Linked DNA regions of Homo sapiens: all the other regions are linked to region 1. The links are contacts of gene promoters, found by promoter capture Hi-C in blood cells and fetal thymus (Javierre and others, 2016). All regions are on one chromosome and are shown on one strand. The core of a region is centred on a gene start or on the middle of the fragment in contact, and the rest is flanking DNA. Distances in the headings are between cores, read along the strand shown. Region 1 holds the start of NCAM2 (neural cell adhesion molecule 2). Region 2 has its middle 350 kb from the start of MIR6130. Region 3 has its middle 310 kb from the start of MIR6130. Region 4 has its middle 330 kb from the start of MIR6130.

Evidence for each region. Contacts are between HindIII fragments. The CHiCAGO score rates a contact against its expected background, and 5 or more counts as called.
Region 2: a fragment that was not itself captured here is called in contact with the fragment with the promoter of NCAM2 in region 1 in 2 of 17 cell types (monocytes and M2 macrophages); the score reaches 5.6 in monocytes.
Region 3: a fragment that was not itself captured here is called in contact with the fragment with the promoter of NCAM2 in region 1 in 9 of 17 cell types (M2 macrophages, M1 macrophages, monocytes and 6 more); the score reaches 16.1 in M2 macrophages.
Region 4: a contact is called between a fragment that was not itself captured here and the fragment with the promoter of NCAM2 in region 1, in 1 of 17 cell types (M2 macrophages). The highest score is 5.6, in M2 macrophages.

Annotation. Positions count from the first base shown.
Region 1 is chr21:20,995,397-21,000,502 of GRCh38, forward strand. It overlaps NCAM2 (neural cell adhesion molecule 2), which reads left to right and starts at 3,013. Exons shown (of 18, transcript NM_004540.5): 1 at 3,013-3,222. The coding sequence starts at 3,168. The HindIII fragment of the contact is 4,236 bases long and covers 1-3,942 here.
Region 2 is chr21:22,729,559-22,734,746 of GRCh38, forward strand. No RefSeq gene overlaps it. Among named protein-coding and RNA genes, the nearest start is that of MIR6130, 350 kb to the right of the region's middle. The HindIII fragment of the contact is 3,960 bases long and covers 1,470-5,188 here.
Region 3 is chr21:22,769,566-22,775,063 of GRCh38, forward strand. No RefSeq gene overlaps it. Among named protein-coding and RNA genes, the nearest start is that of MIR6130, 310 kb to the right of the region's middle. The HindIII fragment of the contact is 5,831 bases long and covers 16-5,498 here.
Region 4 is chr21:22,750,642-22,756,066 of GRCh38, forward strand. No RefSeq gene overlaps it. Among named protein-coding and RNA genes, the nearest start is that of MIR6130, 330 kb to the right of the region's middle. The HindIII fragment of the contact is 1,275 bases long and covers 2,253-3,527 here.

The DNA.
Region 1 (5,106 bases), core at 1,763-4,262:
CTCTCTCTCTCTCTGTCTCTCTCTCACACACACAGAAGTTTGGACACAGTATAGTCTTATGATACAAACTTCTAATCAGAAATTTCATTTGTGTCTGATAGACTATTGCTACCATCTCCCTAACCTCACTCTAAGAACATTTAATGTCTAAATTACCTTACAGGATACCAGTCAAATTTTCCTCTGGCATGGTTTAACCCATTGCCTAAGAAAAAAGTAATTTGACTTTTTTTTTTTTTTTTTTGAGACAGAGTCTTGCTCTGTCACTCAAGCTGAAGTGCAGTGGCACAATTTCAGCTCACTGCAGCCTCCACCTCCTGGGTTCAAGCGATTCTTCTGCCTCAGTCTCCTGAGTAGCTGGGACTAGAGGTGTGCCACCACCCCTGGCTAATTTTTGTATTATTAGTAGAGACGGGGTTTCACCATATTGGCCAGGCTGGTCTTGAACTCCTGACCTTGTGATCCGCCCACCTCAGCCTCCCAAAGTGCTGGGATTACAGGTATGAGCCACGCCCAGCCTGAAAGTAATTTGACTTCTAATAACACAGAGGAGAATTCAGTTGTCAATATTTCCACCTGATTAACAGATGTGCATGTATGTGTGTGTGATAGGCACTTGGCCACTCCCAGTGTCAGGTTGAAAAATTGCAGGCTGTGTGAAGATGCTATTTGACACACAGAGTATACTTTTAACTGTCTTCTGTGATTTTGTGTGTGTGTGTGTGTGTGTGTGTGTGTGTGTGTGTGTGTGCTGAAGTCATTCTTTGGTATCCACAGGGGGGACTAGTTTCAATACTCTCACAGATCCTTGGATGCTCAAGTCCCTTATATAAAATAGCATAAATTTGCATATAACCTCCTGCATATTACATCATCTCTGGATTAGGTGTAATACATTATATAATGCAAATGCTTTGTAAATAGTCACTTTGCTGTATTTTTTTATTTACGTTATTTTGATTGTATCATTGTTTCATTTTTTTTAAAGTTATTTTTCATCCATGGTTGGTAGAATCTGAGGATGTAGAACTGTGGACGCAGAAGGCCTACTGTGTAGCATTTATCAATGCCCAAGAGAAATGAAGAATTGGAGTAAATAAATGAGTCACGGTCTTTCACATCTATAAATGTGCTACTTCCACCCTTTCCTGCAAAGAGCTGACCATGAGTTTACTTAAGTGTGGTTAGTGCATTCCAGAACCAGTAAAGGGTGTGAGAAGGGTACCGTGGCAAAATAACTTTCTAAATATATTGTCTGCTATAAGATCAAGAGGAAATAAGAGGTTCTCTAGCTGTGAGGTGCTGAGAGGGCCATTGCTTAAGGCAGTTCAGCGATGGTGAGTTGAGGGCCGCCTTTCCCCTCCTCTCTTCCTGATAACCCCATCCCAGGATGCCAAGTGGACGAATCATCTGTATAAAGCGCTCTGCCTGGGGAGGACAAATCGCAGACGGTATCTCCCCTATGCATGTTAGCCTGTGTCTACTCTTGCCCCCTGCCCTCCCTGAAGGCAATGCACTGCCCTTTTCAGCGTGAAATCCCCAGGCTGGGGCTGGATTCTGAGCTCTACATTTCTACCTCCCCCCTCTCCAACCCCCGCTATTTCTATGTCCTCACTGATAAGGAAGGAGCTAGGGTCCTTGTGGAGGCCGGGGCGAGGCAGTTGAGTTTTCTAAGGAGCCAGAGAGAAAGTGCAGATGAAAGGACCCATCGTCAGCGTTTGCAGGTCGCGGTAACCCCAGGCCAGATTGACATGGGCTCCGCACCCGGGCCGGTGATTCTGCCTCTTAACCGCTCTTGCAGGAGAGGTGACGTTAATCTCACAAACGTTTTCCTACCCTTCTAGGAGAAATAACGATAAGCCCCAATCTTAAGGAGCAGAGAGTTAGTTCCGGGCGTTTGCCACGGCTCCCTCACTTCAATTTACACTCGCACACGCGGGTACGTGGGTGTTCGGGGTAGGGCACTGATCTGGGGAAGGTCTCCCCCCCGCGACCCAACTCATCTTTGCACATTTGCAGTCCTCCCTCGGTGCACTCCTGGCGGGGATCTGGCCAGTGCAGCGCACTGGGACCGAGGGCAGAGCCCGCGGAGTGAGGCCAGGAGAGACTTCAGGCCTCTAAGGACACAGCTGAGGCTAAGGCTGAGTTGAACGCAGCCCCTCCCGCGGCTCGTCCCCTCTCCAGTGTCTCTCCCGTAAGGTGCCGCTCCCAACAGCAATGGGTCGAGATGTAGAGGAAACACTCTGTACGTTATTTTTCCGCCCACCCTTTAGCGCCTGAGGAGACAGACAGTGTAGACTTTAGGGTACAATTGCTTCCCCTCTGTCGCGGCGGGGTGGGGAGCGTGGGAAGGGGACAGCCGCGCAAGGGGCCAGCCTGCTCCAGGTTTGAGCGAGAGAGGGAGAAGGAGGTCCACGGAGAGACAAGAATCTCCCTCCTCCCACGCCCAAAAGGAATAAGCTGCGGGGCACACCGCCCGCCTCCAGATCCCCCATTCACGTTGAGCCGGGGCGCGCTCGGGGCGGTCGCCTGCAGTATCAGTATCAGCATCAGCATCAGCATCAGCATCTGCATGAGCATCAGCTCAGCTCAGCTCAGCTCAGCATCAGCTCAGCTGTCCTGAGGCAGCCGGCGGCTGTGAAGGAGCTCCAGGCTGCCCCCATCCCCACGCCCTTCTCGGCTCAGGGCGTGCATGAACCTGCGGATGGCCGGCGGGCGAGTGGCGCCTTCGCGATCGCGGCCGCCCCTCTAGGCGGAGGCACCGGGGACCGAACCCGTGACTTCGAGCTCCACTGCGGACGAATCCCGGGACCGCGCGCCTCGCGGAAGAGCGGCCGCCGTGCAGCGCGGAGGGATACGCCTCGGCCGCACCTCCCCTCGCCGCGCCCCCGCCCCCGCCGCCCTCCCCGCCCGGCTCTGCTGCCGCCGCGGCGGCCGCTGCTGCTGCTGCTTCTGCCGCCGCTGCCGCCGCCGCTGCCTGGATATAGTGCGGCAAGAGCGGAGCTTGCAGTCACTTTGCGAGGAGGAGCGCGCGGGCTGCGGGCGGCTGGGGCACCGCGGGAGCGGCGGCGGCGGCTCTAGCAGAGGCGGCCGGGGCAGCGAAAGGTTCTCTCTCCAGGGCTGGACTTAATAACTTTGAAACTGTCCACCGGTGTCACGTCCTGAACATGAGCCTCCTCCTCTCCTTCTACCTGCTGGGGTTGCTTGTCAGTAGCGGGCAAGGTAGGAGTGTGGCGCTTTATTGCATTTACTTTCCCTCCCCCTTCCACCCGGCCAAGAGAGGCAAAGAGGGAGGCGCAGGAAGAATGAAATGAAAGAACTAAAGTTACAGTTATTGCTGTTGTTGTTATTATTATTTTCGTTCTTTCTCCTAGCTGTCCCTAAAATTGTATCTGTTGTGTGGAGACCCTTAAATAAGAGAAGGGAAAATACAGAATTGGAGAGGGGAATCGGTGAGCAGGATATCCAGGGAAACCGCTTCTTCTTCTTCTTTTTTTTTCCTCTGGGATTATGGCTTTCTCTTATTTTTATTATCAGAAATTGGATGAGTGTGTTAACAGTGAAATATCTGAGGTTGCGGAAGGAAAGGGCACGATGGTGTTTTACAGAAGCAGCAAAAACTATCAGTGTTAAACTCATTTGCAAAATATCTGCTGTGTGCAAGACGTTCGATTCTTGGAGACTCTTTTTTTTTTCCACCCCTTTCCCAAAACCCTAATTCCTGACTATGAAGTGAATGATGATGGCTTATTTCTGTTGGAAACTAAGAGAGGGGCCGTGGATATTGTGTGTAAGAAAGCAAATGGATAAAACTAGGGATGTGTTGCAGTCATTCATTTTGACCCCAACCCCTTATTAATACAGAAAGGTGGAATCATTTTATAACATTACATTGTAATTACACCTGTAGAGGATTTTTGGGGTTGTGGGAGAACTGGTGGAAGCTTTTATCTCTTAAAAAAAAAAAATGAATAGCCTGGTAGAATAACCTGAGAGGGAATTTGTGGAAGCTATCACTGTTTGTCTCTAGAGAGATAGATATGAATTTATCTGGCTGTTTAGATAGTAAACACTCACATGAAATATATTTACAATAAATGGAAGCATTTTCAACTGTCCAGACAAGTTTGGACGTTTAATTAGGGACACAAAATGCTAAAACATGCATTGGTGAAAGTCTTTAAAGGAAAAATAAAATAGCACTAATTTTGAGATATGTAATGATTGCAAAGAATGTTATGTTGTTAGTGTAGTGTGAAATTGGTTTTTTAAAATAATATAATAAATTACAAGACAAGTTAAAATATCCCCAAGATATTCAGTTCTAAGCATTTTTAGCCTCTTCTGTATTGCTCGTTTGGTCCAGCAGGGGGTGGTAGAACTCCATTTTAAGCCCAGAAGTTGGTTTCTGCTCTTCCACAGAGTCCTTCTATCATTCTTCAGCAGGGCTTGACATTTTGGATGTGAAGCCTTCCTTTTTCTGCCCTTCTCCTCCCCACAGCTATAGTGTTAGTGGCGGATGAAACACGATTGGATGCAGATTTAATGTTCAGAAATCAGTATGCAAATGTTGGATATTCCTATAGTTTGTAAAGTGTCTTGATAAGATTCTGCTCATTTTCCCTTCCTAACATAGAGTATGAAATATTTCAGTCTTAGCAAAATTGCAGATATGTCCATCTGAAGCTAATACTAGCCCAATTCGTTAATTCAGTGGTTCTTAAGCAAAGATCAGCATGCACATATGTCCTACAGATATGCTTCTTTAATTTTCAGATAGCTGCTGATTGTGTTTAACTGTTCATTTATAGCATAGACAGGTATTTTTGAGCACCAAGAAACAATCCCTGAAAATTGCAGTTAAAATACAACTGCAATTAAATAAGTGTAGGTAGTGTGGGGCAGAATGGGAGCATAATAGGAAACAAGTTTATGCAGACTTAGGATTACATTGTGAGTGGTTTGGAGAAGAAAAATGTCTCAGTTGTGGAATCTGAATTTATCATTGTAGAGGCTAAGTGTGTTGGAATTTGGAGACATAGGAAATTAGAAATGTTTAGATATATAGGTTTAAATAGTACACAGAGACATAAAATTTGGATGTGT
Region 2 (5,188 bases), core at 2,200-4,699, 1.7 Mb after region 1:
CCTGATAAGCAGTTAAAGTTCTGTCTGACTCAGGAATGGGGTATGTGCTGGTGGGATTTCCTAAAGGACCACTTCATGTCACAGGCCATAAAACCTCAACATGTTACTAGTGGAAGGTATCCCCATTACTGGCAGTGAATCCGTATATATCTGCAGCAACTTCAATTCTTGCCTCCTCAGAAGAAAGAATTTGACTGAGGGGCATAAGGATGAAGTAAGACCAAGGCAAGTTTCAGCACAGGAGTGAAAGTTTATTAAAAAGACTTTAGAACAGGAAAAAAGGAAGATTCACTTGGAAGGGACCCAAGTGGGCACCTGAAGGTCAAGGGCATTTAACCTTGATCCTAGGACTTTATAGACTCACCTCTTTCCCATGATTATTTCCTTAGAGTGGGCTTCCTGCATGCATAGAGTCTCTTCCTGCCCTTGGGTAGTGAGCACGTGCAGTGTGTTGAGGAAGATGTATGCATGGCCATCTGAGGCTTTCTTCCCTTTTCTGGTGGAGTATCCCCAGAAGGTCATACTTTGCCATTTTGTCTCTTAGTGCACATGCCCAGGAAGCTGCTTCCCCGTGGCATCTGCGTTCAATTAACACATTAATGTTAACATCTGTGGATCATCAGGAGATTGTCTCTCCCTGGCACCCAGGCCCCAGTGCCCGCTGCTGAATTACCGGTGTTAGGCAGGCAGTGTGATAATTGTTGAACCATCACCTGACATTTCTAGTGGGTGGGAAATAAGAGCCCTCTGCTGCCATGCCCATGCCTATCTAACTGCCTGTAATAAACACTTTGCTGGGCTCCTAGTCACCTAGGAACAGCCTAAAAGGGCCCAGGGGAGCAGAGCAATGTCTCTCGGGAGTCTAAGGACCCTCATCTAGATAATTTTTTAATTAGGCCGCTACTATGAACACCAAGGTTTTAACCATTGTTAAGTCAAATATAGTTACACACACTAAAGACACAAACACAGACAAGCAGAAGTCAAAATTAAACCAACCTGAGTACCTCAGTGATTACAGCATTTTATTATCACTCTTATTCTTTGGGAATCTAACCTCAAACAGATTCAGGATGCTAATCAGACCAGGATCCCAATAGGGTGGGACTAGAACCCAAAATTCCTATGATGAAACCTTTGACAATTTATGATATAGGCACATATTAGTGAAGTACTCATCCCCAAGACATCTAAGCCAGAAGCACTTTCTTTTTCCCAAATAAGAAAGTAGTACTGCTGAGCCTGAACTGTCGCAGCAGAGAATCAGTGATGTCTCAGTCAATCCCCTAGATAAAACTGTTCTAGGTGGCCATTCTGTCAGTGAAGGGGGCCTACAACACTTCAAGAGGCTACATTGCCACAGGCAGATTTTTGTACCATTTGGGTTGCAAAAAATGTTACCAAGAATGGGCTTGCTGCCTAATACTTGGAAGCCCATACTATGGTGTTGGCTTTTAAGAAAAGAAAAAAGCTTTATTGTGGAGTCAACTGGCAACAAGACAGGAGGCAATGCTCATATCACTATCCTTCAGCTGGGATCTAGGGGCAAATTTATAGATAGTAACAATGGAAGAGATAGAAAAATGCAATGAGGCATGATCTATTAGAATATGCAAAGAGGCATATTCTAATATGCCTTGGCTCCTAAGTACCTCCTGCAACAAAACAGGGTACACCTTGGTTTTTAACTTTGGTCCCCTTTCCTCAATCCAAGATCTTAGGTTCCACCTGTGCTTAACTTTTTTGTTCTAGCTGCCCCTGGGGTCAAAATTGGGCATGTTTGGTTCATCTGGGCATGCTCAGGTAACTTGATCTGCAACCTGGGGATCCATTGCACTGAATAAAACTCATCATTCTGGCTAGGTGCGGTGGCTCACGCCTGTAATCCTAGCACTTTGGGAGGCCCAGGTGGGAGGATTGCCTGAGCTCAGGAGATCAAGACCAGCCTAGGCAACACAGTGAAACCCTGTCTCTACTAAAATACAAACAATTAGCTGGGTGTGGCAGTGTACACCTGTAGTACCGGCTACTCAGGAGGCTGAGGCAGGAGAATACCTTGAATCTGGGATGCGGAGATTGCAGTGAGCTGAGATCGCACCACCGCACTCTAGCCTGGGCGACAGAGCGAGACTCCGTCTCCAAACAAACAAACAAACAAACAAAAACCACTCATCATTCTGTTACTTTCGTTATTGACAAAGTTGAACTAAATTGAGTTGATTCTGGCATTAAAACAATATAGTGTAATATTTAAGAGAAGTTCAGATCATATCTTGGTTGAGCCATCAGAATAATTATAGAGATAAAAAATGTGCTCTAAGGAAGACAGAGAAATGCTAACAGAGTGTTTACAGCAAGGGAATCATTTTCCATCACTTGTGTTTTGCTAAGATTCCAAAGCAGGCAGGGTGTGGGAACATTTTACAGTGAGGAAAAGGGAAGGTTTTAGGTGTGCTCTGATTGGAATTTTTAGCGGTTGTGGAAAAAAAGACCACAAAAATAAGAACAAAGTCTGTCTATATATTCAGAGGTTGCTATAACAAGGGAGTTAGTCACCATCACTTCCCTTTATCAGAGAGTCAACATCAGGCAAGAGAGTAGAAAAACTTTATAGTGAAAAGAAAGGGAAGGCTTCAGGAATTATCTCATGAGAGAACGCAGGCACAGAGAAACAACGTGGGCTAAGCAGAAGTGGTCATTTTATGTGTTTGGTTTGGGGAGCATATTTGACTTTCTCTTCTTGGTCTAGGGATGAAAGTGGGAGGAAAACAAACAAATGAAAAACAGAGATGGCAGTCATTAAAACATTAAAATCATAGCAGCTGTCTCTCTAGGCCAACAGCTGCACAGGTTGTGATTTGGTTTCCTGAACTTGTTGCTGCAGAGGTTGGGAAATAGAATTTAATTGTCAGTACTTTAGGAGGCTGAGGTGGGCGGATCACTTGAGGTCAGGAGTTCAAGACCAGCCTGGCCAACATGGTGAAACCCCATCTCTACCAAAATTTAAAAAAAAAAAATTCAGCCAAGTGTCATAGCGCATGCTGGTAGTACCAGCTACTCAGGAGGCCGAGGCTGTCTCTACCAGAAACATAAAAAAAAATTAGCCAGGTGTGGTGGTACATGCCTGTAGTCCCAGCTACTCAAGAGGCTGAGGCAGGAGAGTTGCTTGAACCCAGGAGGCAGAGGTTGCAGTGAACTGGGATCATGCCACTGAACTTCAGCCCGGGTGACAGAGTGACTCCATCTCAAAAAAAAAATAAAAGAATTTCATTGTGATATACCATCTTACTATTTATTTATATTCAGCCTCTCACTTGTGCTGCATTACACTGCCTAAATCCTCCCTCCAAAACTGCAGAAACTAACCCCTGAGCTTCTGGGATTGTCCTCTATCAGACCTAAATTCATGTCTCATTTCTGAAAAGCAGCTTTCATCCAATTACTGGTGGATATGTAGTTTTAAAAGCCCAAATGAATCTCTCTGACAAACAAAATATATGAAGGGATATCCCAGCTCCTGAGTACTCCTATGGTTTTACAAAGGTCTTGCTATAATTAAAATGTAGCACTACTTTTCTTCTGCCCAGTTATACTTCTGTTATTTTCTCTCACAAATATTGATCATAAGGTCATTCCCTAGTAAATTTCCTTCAAACTTATGTTTCCAGGGAACCTGATCTGCAACATTAAATAATAATATTTGTATGTATGAAGGCTGTACATCTGAGCTAGAGATATGATGGTCTCTGTGGCCATGCCTGCAAAAACTAACATTTACTATTACAAAGGTTATTTTAAAATATGGTTCATAATTTTAATTATATTTAAATCATATGATATATCTAGGTAGACAGATACATAGAGATAGATAGATAGATAGATAGATAGACAGATAGATAGATAGACAGATACTTTTTAATCTAGACCAAATAACTGTAGTTTAGAAGATACTGAATTCTGTTAAGCAGGTGTTGATGAATCTTCCTTATGAGGTTCTAAACTTCTAGGACAATGTGATCAGTTATCCTGTGCTTCTTCTCCCCTATTTATGTTTTTTTTTCAAGCTGTGATACCCAAACTTTGTTAATTTCTCAGTTTCTATCTCATGTTATACCTTTCAATTGTGATGCATTGATATCTGCTTTTATTTTTCTTTTAATGAAGTTGTGCTACAACTTCAATATGCCATCTTTCCTGTTCTAGTAATTCATATTTATTTTTATTCTAACCAATAGATTCTATGCACTAAAGGCAGTAAGCATTCAATGTTTATTAAAATAAGTGTCTATATATGTGTAAAATCTGTTTGCAGAAATTTTCCTGAAATGTTCATAGAATTGATGCTTACATTTATACAACTTTGAATCAACAGAAATGGGACACCATGCCCAAGGAAATAAAAAATATCTTAAAGTTGTAGAGCTCATTGGAAGCAAGATTAAAAGTGATATTAGAATATATAAATAACTACAATAGAATACCTAATCAACTCATTTTTTCTCACATATGAATTATTTGCTTATTATGAAATATACTTCCTGATAATAGAAAAGGCTTAAGATAAAATAATGGCTTTTATTTTTTGTATTTAAACTGAGCTTGTTTCCTACCATTTATGGGCATAAGATACCATTTGTCAAATACTTCACGAACAGAACTTCATTTACATAAACTACTTTGAGCATCAGGCACATATCATTTTATACTTTTGCAAATGCAGTAACCAAGAAGCAGAGATTCACCTAGCTGTCATGAAATCACCTAGGGATTAAAACAAGAGCTCTCTATTGGCAAAGCCTATGCTCTTTATCATTTCTACTACATTGCTTCTCAACGTATTATTGGAAAGTTTTACATATTGGCCACATTTTTGTCCTACTATTCTTTTACTACTCAAATAAAAATCTAGAAATGAATGACATTTATAAGGATGCATTATTTTTTACTGTACTGAGGAGTGTGTCTCTAAGATTCTCACAGCCACTTTTCACGCATTTCACTGATGCCAGGCAATGAATTTCACTTGAGTTCTTTTGAATTGGTTTCAAAATGTAGTAGCTTTTAATTAATCTCTTCTTTACTAGTTTTTCTTTACTTTAAAATCCACATTAACTTTAAATAACGTGTCCCGGGCCATCAACTTTTATGCTTTTGTTTTAAGAATTTGAATAAATTTAATTACTGAGTG
Region 3 (5,498 bases), core at 1,681-4,180, 1.8 Mb after region 1:
ATTAATTTTACCACAAGCTTTAGAGTAGTAAGAAGTAACCTTGATTATATTCTGAGTTTTAAGTGTATTTCTCCCTGCCTACATTGTGTATTGACAACTCATTTTTTCTTGATAGTAATAATTCATTGTCTCAGTCGACTAGGGAAATGGACAAGGTAAGCCTAATGACTGCCCCAATTTATTGCTTAGAGAATGTTAATAGGCCATGGCACAGGACTGGGAAATCCAGGAAATCTACTCCAAGTGAGGAGACACAGCTAGAAGTTCAAAGAAGTCAAGATAGCTAGAGTTCATAAAAAAGAGTACAGGAGAAGGGAAAACTGCGATAAAATAAAATCCAGAGATCTCAAAAGATTCGTCCAGAATATTCAGTTAAGTAGAAATCAGTGCGTGTGTGTGAGGAAACTATCAAAATCCAGAGAAAACCACCTGAAAAGTTTAGAGAGAACAATGCTTGAGACTTACGCAGGGCCGGAAACATGCCTGTTTTCCACAGCCAGAGACACACTCTTTCATATTTGAGAATTTGTCTCTCTTTTTTTTCTTTTCTTTCTCTCTCCCTCTCTCTCATTCTCTCCTTTCTCTCTCTCTTCTCTCTTCTTTCTCTCTCTCTCTCTCTCTCTCTCTCCTTCTCTCTTCCCTTCTTTTTTGACAGACTTTTGCTATTATTGCCCAGGCTGGAGTGCAATGGCATGATCTCAGCTCACTTCAACCCCTGCCTCCCGGATTTCTCCTGCTTCAGTCTCCTGAGTAGCTGGGATTACAGGCGCCTGCCACTATGCCTGGCTAATTTTTTGTATTTTTAGTAGAGACGGGGGTTTCACCATGTTGGCCAGGCTTGTCTCGAACTCCTGACCTCAGGTGATCCACCTTCTGCCTACATTTAGTAATTAATCTTATTGTAAATTTCTAATGAATTGTAAATTATTTCAGCAAAATTCTACTTCTCTTTTCATCCTTTTGTGTAAACCTGTTAATAATGAACTCATCACTCATATCCAGTTTAAAGATTAACATGGATTGATAGTAAATACTTGTGAATTTTTTCAAGTAAAAAAAAAGTATGCTATAAGATGTACTTTCATTTTTGATGTTTTTCTTCTATTAGAAATAAATAATTTTATTTCTATAGAAGTTATTATACTGGATAATATTTTATCTTCCATATTACTTATTATTTTTCTAATTTCCTAGTCTATTTTCTAATTTTTATTCCACATTAATTATAATAATATAAAAGTTCCCCTTCATATATTGATTAGATTTTCTTTTTGGTGTGTGTGTGACAGAGTCTCACTCTGTCGCCGAGGCTGGACTGCAGTGTCGTGATCTTGGCTCACTGAAACCTCTGCCCCTCGGGTTTCAAGCGATTCTCCTGCCGCAGCCTCCCAAGTAGCTGGGATTACAGGCATCCACCACCATGCCCAGATAATTTTTGTATTTTTAGTAGAGACAGAGTTTCCCCATGTTGGCCAAGCTGGTCTCAAATTCCTGGCCTCAAGTGATCCACCTGCCTCAGCCTCCAAAGTGCAGGGATTACAGATGTGAGCCACCACGCCTGGCCTGATTAGATTTTTATCAGTGACTTCTGTGTGCCTCATGGTTTCTAATTGCGCTTCAGTCTCTATTTTCAACTCATTTACCTGCTTAGTCATCACATCTTTGAGGTCTTGAGCTCACGTTAGCTAAAGGTTCTAATTTTATCATATGAGACACTTCAGGGAATTTTTTGGTCACTTATTTTTGAAAGTATTACATTTTTAATCCTTCTTTTTCAAATTTACTTACCCTTCTGTCATGAGATTTTATATTTGCCATATTATTTATTTCTAGTCGATTCATGTTTAATCCAGGATTTTTATTACAACATGCCCAGATATACTGTTTGCTTTAATATAGTGAACCTGTGTTAACATTTCCCATGTAGAACTTCTCCGTTTTTCCACCTTCAGAAGGACACACTTTGGAGAATAGTGTTGCTTTTTTTTTTTTTTTTTTGAGACGGAGTCTCGCTCTGTCGCCCAGGTCGGACTGCGGACTGCAGTGGCGCAATCTCGGCTCACTGCAAGCTCCGCTTCCCGGGTTCACGCCATTCTCCTGCCTCAGCCTCCCGAGTAGCTGGGACTACAGGCGCCCGCCACCGCGCCCGGCTAATTTTTTTTTGTATTTTTAGTAGAGACGGGGTTTCACCTTGTTAGCCAGGATGGTCTCGATCTCCTGACCTCATGATCCACCCGCCTCGGCCTCCCAAAGTGCTGGGATTACAGGCGTGAGCCACTGCGCCCGGCCTAGTGTTGCTTTTTAATTCCCCTTTTGCTTGGAGGTGAAAATGAGCTTGGGAAGAACTCACTGGGAGTATTACATATCATATTTGCAAATAGGGCTCTATTTTTTCTCTTAAACATTATATTAAATTTCGTATCGCAGAGCAATCAACAGGAAACTCACCTGATTTCCATGGCCTTTTATTTGCTTTCATACTCAAAATAGTGTCCTCTAAGAGAAAAAGTGCTGATTTCTTTTTCTGCTTTTGTAGGCTTTAAAGCTAGTGTGTAGAACAAAAGAAAAAACTGGAGGCTCAAAACCAAAATTTATAAATAAATATGTAATATTTCTAACATTTGGTAATATGGAATGGGATAAAATATTTATAACCAAATTATGTAGTACAATTGGAATCACTTGCCTCTAGGAAAGCCTTAGTCAAAACAGACAACCATATAAGATGGTTTAGGCATGAAAGTAGAAAGGAATGAATGATATAGTTTTCATTAACAGAAACCCATGTAAATATAATTAAGCACTTATTTAGACATGAGTGCCAATGCATTTGTGTCTTCCCTTTGGGTTTTAATTGGGTGCTGATGCTGTGAACCATATGTACATATTTATAAATAGCAAACATTAACTTGCATACTTTGCAGAAAGTATCACCATAATGCTAAGTATAATTTTTATTAGTTCAGGCTCATTATCTTAACAATTTTAAAGAGAACAATATTCTCCATAAGATGCTACACGCCTACATTCTGTTAAAATCAAAATATTAAAGAATTAACATATTGGCTGAGCAGTACTACTCCAGAAATGTATTGAGAATCGTATCCTTAGAAATTCAATATATAGTGGAAGATGTAGTAGTCAAATGAAAAACATCTTTTTTTAATTCTCTAAATTCACTAATCAATTTAGTGTATGAGAGAAATAAATTTACATATTTCATGTTATCAAGAACATTTTGTAAAAACATGTTCATCACTAAAGGCCAGCGTCCCCTCTTTTTGAAGCCATCTGCAACTTTTTAATGTGTACAATCAGTATTAATTTAAAACTTATTTATTAATATACACACACGTGCACACACATATATGCTGCATATAAAACACTGCTTTTTGGAAGGGAAAATAAAACATAAAATCAGTTACTAATTTTTATGAATTTATCATCTAATTGAGGGGAGCAAGATAAGCATATAAAGTGTTGATGTTCATAAAAGCTAATTTGTGGTATAAAAGAGCAGCAAAAGAAATAGTATGTCTAAGAAAAAATTATAATCAAGTCTGTATGTCATAATAAAGTGGGCAATGTTTGAACTGAACATCAACATATGAAGAGAATGTTGTTACAGAGGTTAAGTGGTAAGAGAATAAGCAGCTCCAGGTAGCCGGGCACTGATCTGACTCTCACTGCTAGACTGTGGTGTCCTCAGGAGCTATCTGGCATGCACAGTCATCCTTCGATGACCTCCAGTTGAAAGTAAACAATTTCACAGAAAACCAGTATTAGACAAGGTCACATTGTGTACTACAAAGGAGACAAAAAGCTAAGCCTAGAGAAAAAAAAAAAAAAGAAGGTCACTCATCATACCCCCAAATTATCAAACATTTCCATTTCTCAGCTTACTGCTGCTTTCTTCCAATGAAAACTTCAACCTCATTTCAAGTTTTCATCTTTCTAGATCTGATGGATAGGATACACAATCTTGGCCTTACTCCTTCCTGAAAGGAAAAAAAATCTTGCTTTCAGGAACCATCCTCCAAATCACTAAACACAACCCCAAATTCCATAAGTATTTCCTAAAATTTTAGTGAGATGTCTCATAATTCTGGTTTATGATTTTCCTTGCAATGAACTACCATGCCCAACTTTGTTTAAATACAAGTGTGCTTCTAGTGGTCTTTTGGCTGGAGAACACTGGCAGTGTCTGGATAATATTATTACAGCGGGTGGGATGCTTCTGGCTTCATAAAGAGCTTAGTGTTGCCAGTTGCATTACTAAGGATGCTAAAAACAAAGGGTTGGCACAGTCAAGGATTAAAAAGAGTAAATAAAAGGATCATTTACAAATGTGTGGGAAGAGTTAAGAGAAGAGAGAAGATTCTGAGGCATCCAGGAATAGTAACATCAGAAAGCATTCATCACCTCCAGTCTTGAAAAGCAGAGGAAGCTATATTTTTGTCGTGTAGTGCTGGATATAAGAACTGCCTATCAGAAGCTGAGGTCTTCAGCAGATAAATACAGCTATTGGTAAGCAATTGAGACTTTAAAGTATTAACTAACTGGGGCACATAAAAGTTTGGACAAGGGTAAAGATTGTGGAGATTGGATCTGGAGGATAAATGGAGAATATTAAGAATTAAACAAAAGGGGTTGATTTTTATCTATGTATAATTGTGAGCATGCATTCAGGATAAAGTTCAGCATCAGAACCACTATTTTGAAAATAGTGAAAGAGAAATGTATTCCTTAGAAACAGAATTTTTTTCATACTTATCTTGTCATAAAGTATCTATCCATAGTACATTTAGGAAAGATGGGGTTGGAAAGCAAAGTGAAGGCCAAATTGTAGAAACTCTCAGTAGTTAAACTACAGAGATTAGGTATCATTCCCCAAAAAGGATTTGGAGATTTCAGCTGGGTGTGGTGACTTATGCCTGTAATCCCAGCACTTTGGGAGTCTCAGGTGGGTGGATCCTCTGAGGTCAGGAGTTCCAGACCAGCCTGGCCAACATGGTGAAACCCTGTGTCTACAAAAAATACAAAAACTAGCTAGGCATAGTGGCAGGTGCCTATAACCCCAGCTACTTGGGAGGTTGAGGCAGGAGAATTGCTTGAAGCGGGAGGCAGAAATTGCCAAGATTACGCCACTGCACTCCACCCTGAGCAACAGAGTGAGACTTTGTCTCAAAAATATAAATAAATAAATAAACAAATGGAGATCTCAACATTGCATTTAAAGCAATGTTTAAGGAGAGTTAATACGGTGTTAGGAATGGTAGAAATATGTCAGGTAGAAACAGGAACAGGAGTAAAGTTTGAGAATTTGAGTTTACAGATTTTAATGATTTTGAGATGTGAAGGACCTAATATAAAATGATAGCATTATATGATCCAAACAATTACATATTAAACAATTTACCAACGAATTTATAGGTGACTGATTAGCACTAGCAGCCATGGAGAAGGATAGAATTAGATGTACTTGAAGTTTTCAGCTA
Region 4 (5,425 bases), core at 1,640-4,139, 1.8 Mb after region 1:
TATCTTATTTTTTAATACTTAAAACACATAATTGGTCTCTATATAAGAAACACTAGATCAATAAATAATAAATTAGTGTTTTCTTGTTTTTGGAAAACAATAAGGAAATAAGGTTAAACATTTTTAATCATTGCCCAAACATTTTCATTTCATTTGATACATAGTATAGTGTTAAACTCATTTGTTAACACATAATGATTTTTTTCCTCTAATTCAAAAATGATTTTTCGTATATATAGAAGTAATGACTGGTTTTAAAATTTATATTACTAAATATAATAATGTAGTGTTGAAATATCAGTATATGTAATATACAATGGAATTTCAAAACCTGAGACATATTTCAGTCCTCATATTTTCTTGTCAATTTATAGGACACCTTTTCAGCTATATAATTATTAATATAAGATCCATCTAATTATAACATAATAACTTCTTTGCTATAGCTTATACATATATATCAAAGCATATTTATAAGGTAAACAAACTAAAACAAGCATATAAATATGTAATAATATTTTATAAAACACTTCAAAGAGAGGTAAAGAACATCACACACCGGGGCTTGTTGTGGGGTGGGGAGGTGGGGAGGGATAGCATGAGGAGATATACCTAATGTTAAATGACGAGTTAATGGATGCAGCACACCAACATGGCACATGTATACATATGTAACAAACCTGCACGTTGTGCACATGTACCCTAAAACTTAAAGTATAATTAAAAAAACACATAAGATTAATGTGGTGATAAAATATTACACTGATGATAAAGGACTTTTTTGAGAGATCAATAATTGTCCAATGAGAATCAAGAATTGAAGTATGTCATCAATGTTTTTTTCTAAAAATATACTTTCTGAAAACTTATTTGCCATACATTACGTTAACTGCTAAGCAGCAACTAAAAAATATATTATCTGCTCCTCAAGAGCATAAAAACAAGGAACTAAGTATTTGCAGGCATACACAAGCATTTTGAAAGGGCCATACTACATACCAAAAGCATCATAAATGCATTTTGTTGAAGAATTATGAAAGTAATGCTATTGTGATTGAAAACATAATCTAATGTTTAAACCACAATTTGATTTAGCAAAAAATAAATAAATAAAATAAAGTAATGGGAGATTCATTATCTAGAAACATGTACAGTATTTTTTCAATAATTTAAGCATATTTTTCATTTTGTTGAAAGGTAATTTACATAGCATCAATGTATTAAATCAATTTGAAGAAATATTAAACAGAACATTTTATTTTTCTATCATACTAAATTAGAAAATTAGATTTGTAGCTTATATTTCTAATATTCTTAATTAAATATACCTGGTTTAGATATTAAACATACTGGATTAGAAAAAAGTGTGCAATAAAATACTGCCAAAATTTTACTACAATGATTAAAATAGTTCAATGATCTACACATTCCAAATTTTTTTTCAATTTAACTGAGAGAATTGTCTCTTATCCTCTCTGAAGAGGTTTTATTGTAAATTCCACATTTTTGCTTCTGAAGAAAAAATAATTTCTTCACTGAATAAATGTTTTAGGTTCTGATTTTGAATAAGATGAAGTAACTCACAGCAGATCAAGAACAACTGAAAAATGCAGATGAAAATTCAAGAATAGTCTCTCTTTAAAAATAAGATAGCTACATTTTCTTAATCCAGTCTATCATTGTTGGACATTTGGGTTGGTTCCAAGTCTTTGCTATTGTGAATAGTGCCGCAATAAACATACGTGTGCATGTGTCTTTATAGCAGCATGATTTATACTCATTTGGGTATATACCCAGTAATGGGATGGCTGTGGCACATATACACCATGGAATACTATGCAGCCATAAAAAATGATGAGTTCATATCCTTTGTAGGGACATGGATGAAATTGGAAACCATCATTCTCAGTAAACTATCGCAAGAACAAAAAACCAAACACCGCATATTCTCACTCATAGATGGGAATTGAACAATGAGATCACATGGACACAGGAAGGGGAATATCACACTCTGGGGACTGTGGTGGGGTCGGGGGAGGGGGGAGGGATAGCATTGGGAGATATACCTAATGCTAGATGACACATTAGTAGGTGCAGCGCACCAGCATGGCACATGTATACATATGTAACTAACCTGCACAATGTGCACATGTACCCTAAAACTTAGAGTATAATAAAAAAAAAAAAAAAAAAAAATAAGATAGCTGCCTAGGTAACCAGAGACTGAGGGGCCAAGTTGCTGATGAGTAGGAAGCTTCGGAGTAAAGAATTGATTTTATTGGGCTCATTTTCTCTTGAATCTTCTCCAAACTTGGTGGAAAAACCACTGAACATCCACCCAAAGATTGCACACAGGAGGGAGCTGCTTTTACAATATTAAAGAGCTAGAAAGACAAATTGAAGATCAGACCTGTAAAGCAACGAGGACTTGAGTAGGCAAGATATTGGAAGAAACAATGAACTGAAAACTTACAAGTGATTGGGACATTGCAGAGCAATGGGAAGGTTAACTTCTTTAATGCCAATGCAAATGGGAACTGAAATTGTTAAAATTCAGTATCTGGAACAAATAATTTTAAATAATAAAAATTAACCATTATAGCATATAAATTAAATCAATGTATAAGCATCAAAATTGCTTTGTTTAAATATTTCTGCAATTATGCCTGAGGTTTAAAATCCTGTATATAAAATAAACAACCAAGAAACATTCATAATTCAGTTTTAAAGACACAATGTGTTTGTATATTTTAATATTATAACAGCATGTTTTTGGACTGTCCTGACTTTTTCTGCTTGAAATTATTTTAAAAACTTTTAAAGAGTATCGTAACTTGCTATTTGATATAGTTTGGCTGTATCCCCACCCAAACATCATCTTTAATTTCAGTTACAATAGTGTCCACGTGTTGTGGGAGGGACCCAGTGAAAGGGAATTAAATCACGGGGGCAGTTACCCTCATGCTGTTCTTGTGATACTGAATGACTTCTCAAGTGAATTGATGGTTTTGTAAGGAGCTTTTCCCCCTTTTCTCAGTACTCATTTTTTCTCCTGCCACCCTGTAAAGAGGTGCCTTCCACCATGATTGTAAGTTTCCTGAGGCCTCCCCAGCAATGTGGCACTGAGAGTCAATTAAACCTCTCTTCTTTATAAATTACCCAGTCTTAGGTATTTCTTCAAAGCAGCATGAGAATGCACTAATACACTATTTGCATATATAATAATAATTTTTGTCTTATCATTATTTATTATTTAATAAATAAATAAATATATATGGGCATTCAGACATTTCTGAGCCTTCACTTTGAAGCTCCTGACTGAGATCTTGGATGAGGAAAGAAATATCTGAAATATACAACCACATTAAATGAAAAAACACTTGCTGAGGCTCCTTCTATATGGGGTAATCTTGTAATTTATCAAACAAAACAGGATGAGAGTAAAAGAATGGCTATTTATTACTGTGCCAAGAAATCAGGAAATCAAGCATATACTGGACTGTCACAGAAAACATGGATGTATAATAAGCTTTCACATAATCCTCTGTGACAATAGAACATTAAGTTCACAATATATTGGTCCATAAAGATTGATTAAAGCTGATTCTAAGAGAAAATGAAAAAGCTGATTCTAAAAGAAAATGAAAAAGCTGATGGGGAAACTAAGAGATTCATCTTGAAACTGCAGAAAGCACAATTACAAATCTGTAGAAGAAGTGTTTTTATATATGTTGCCTCTGTGGAGACATTTTTATCGGTAAAGTCCTCTTTGTAAATGGAGCGATTAATACTATGTGCTTTAAAGAATTAGACTCAAATAATATCTTTCAATGAATGTTATCAAATTTTCTCTCTGTTACTTAGTTCATTTTTATGTAAATCTTAATATAAATCAGTAACACATCATATAGTGTTAATGGGTCATACATAAAAATTTTATCTCTCCTCATTTTATAAGTGACATACAAAATTGTATGTTTTCTTCAGTAAGTACCCAGATTACAATTTTGCTCAAAATATAAAAATTGTGAATATTAAATAGACAATATAGTTAGTATTACAAAATATTTATAAAATAACTTTGGGAAATTTGTCAAAATTAGACCTAAAATTCTAAAAGTCCTTTTAAAGAAATCATGAACAATTAAAATACTTGGACACCTTTCACATTTGAGAGACCTGCACCACAATAAGTCAAGCAAATTTCTAAGTCTCTGCCTGCCTTAAATTCTTCCCCGCTGAGCTGAGGATACCAGAGGTTGACAACTGTAGCCTCATCCTGCAGCATCTGTGCTAAGTCAGTGGAAGCTCTGCTTGGCAAGACTGAAACACCACCATCTGTAGGAAGGCTGTTACTCTCACTCTGGAATGTCTAGTGGAATTGTAGAATTACATGCTATGATGATATAAAACTTCCTCTCATGTGTGGGTTGGCAATGTGAAGAAATTTCAAGGACAATCCCCAAAATCAATTCAATTAAATTGAATGAAATATTTGATCTCTTACAAATTTCTCAACTTTGTCGTGACTGGAAAGTACATCACAAAGAACATCAAAAACTTCATTGTGCTTAAAAATAATCATTATTTATTCATGTGAAAATCATAATTATAATTGTGTGAAAATGAAGAAATTTTTTACCTGTTCTTCCATTTTATGCAAACATACATTATCCTACAGTTTGTGATACACATTAATTTTAATGTAGTAATATCCTAGACCTGTTAAATGAATCCTAATTACTCCACATTCTCATGAAATTTACAGGTCATTTAAATAAACATCCTCAATTCTATAATAAAGATTGAGAATTAGGGAGGAACTGATGAATTTCATAATCAATTTAAAACTATTCCCTCTCTGATTTATACTCATGAATGTGTTGTTAAATTTTCAATGATTAGTCCTCTTGAGGATGAGGGAAAAGCCCTCATTTTGGGGATTTGTTGATTCCTGTGGGGCAATACTTCTGTCATAACTTAATATAAACTATGTAAAAGTTAAATCATTTCCTCCTTTATTAGTCTGTTCTCACACTGCTAGTAAAGACAAACCCGACACTGGGTAATTTATGAAGGAAAGAGATTTAATTGCCTTACAATTCATCATAGCTGGGGAGGCGTCAGGAACCTTACAATCAAGGCAGAAGGGGAAGCAAGCACATCCTTCTTCACAGTGGCAGGAAGGAGAAGTGCCAAGAAAAGGGAGCAAAGCCCCTTATAAAACCATTAGATTTCTTGAGAACTAACTCACTATCATGATATTTTACTTACTATCATGAGAACAGCATGAGGGTAATAATTCAATTGCCTCCCACTAGGTCCCTTCTATGGCACATGAGGATTACAGGAGTTACAATTTAAGATGAGATTTGGGTGGCTTCCTTTTTCTATTATCATGCCCCCCAATAGTTCCTAATTGTCA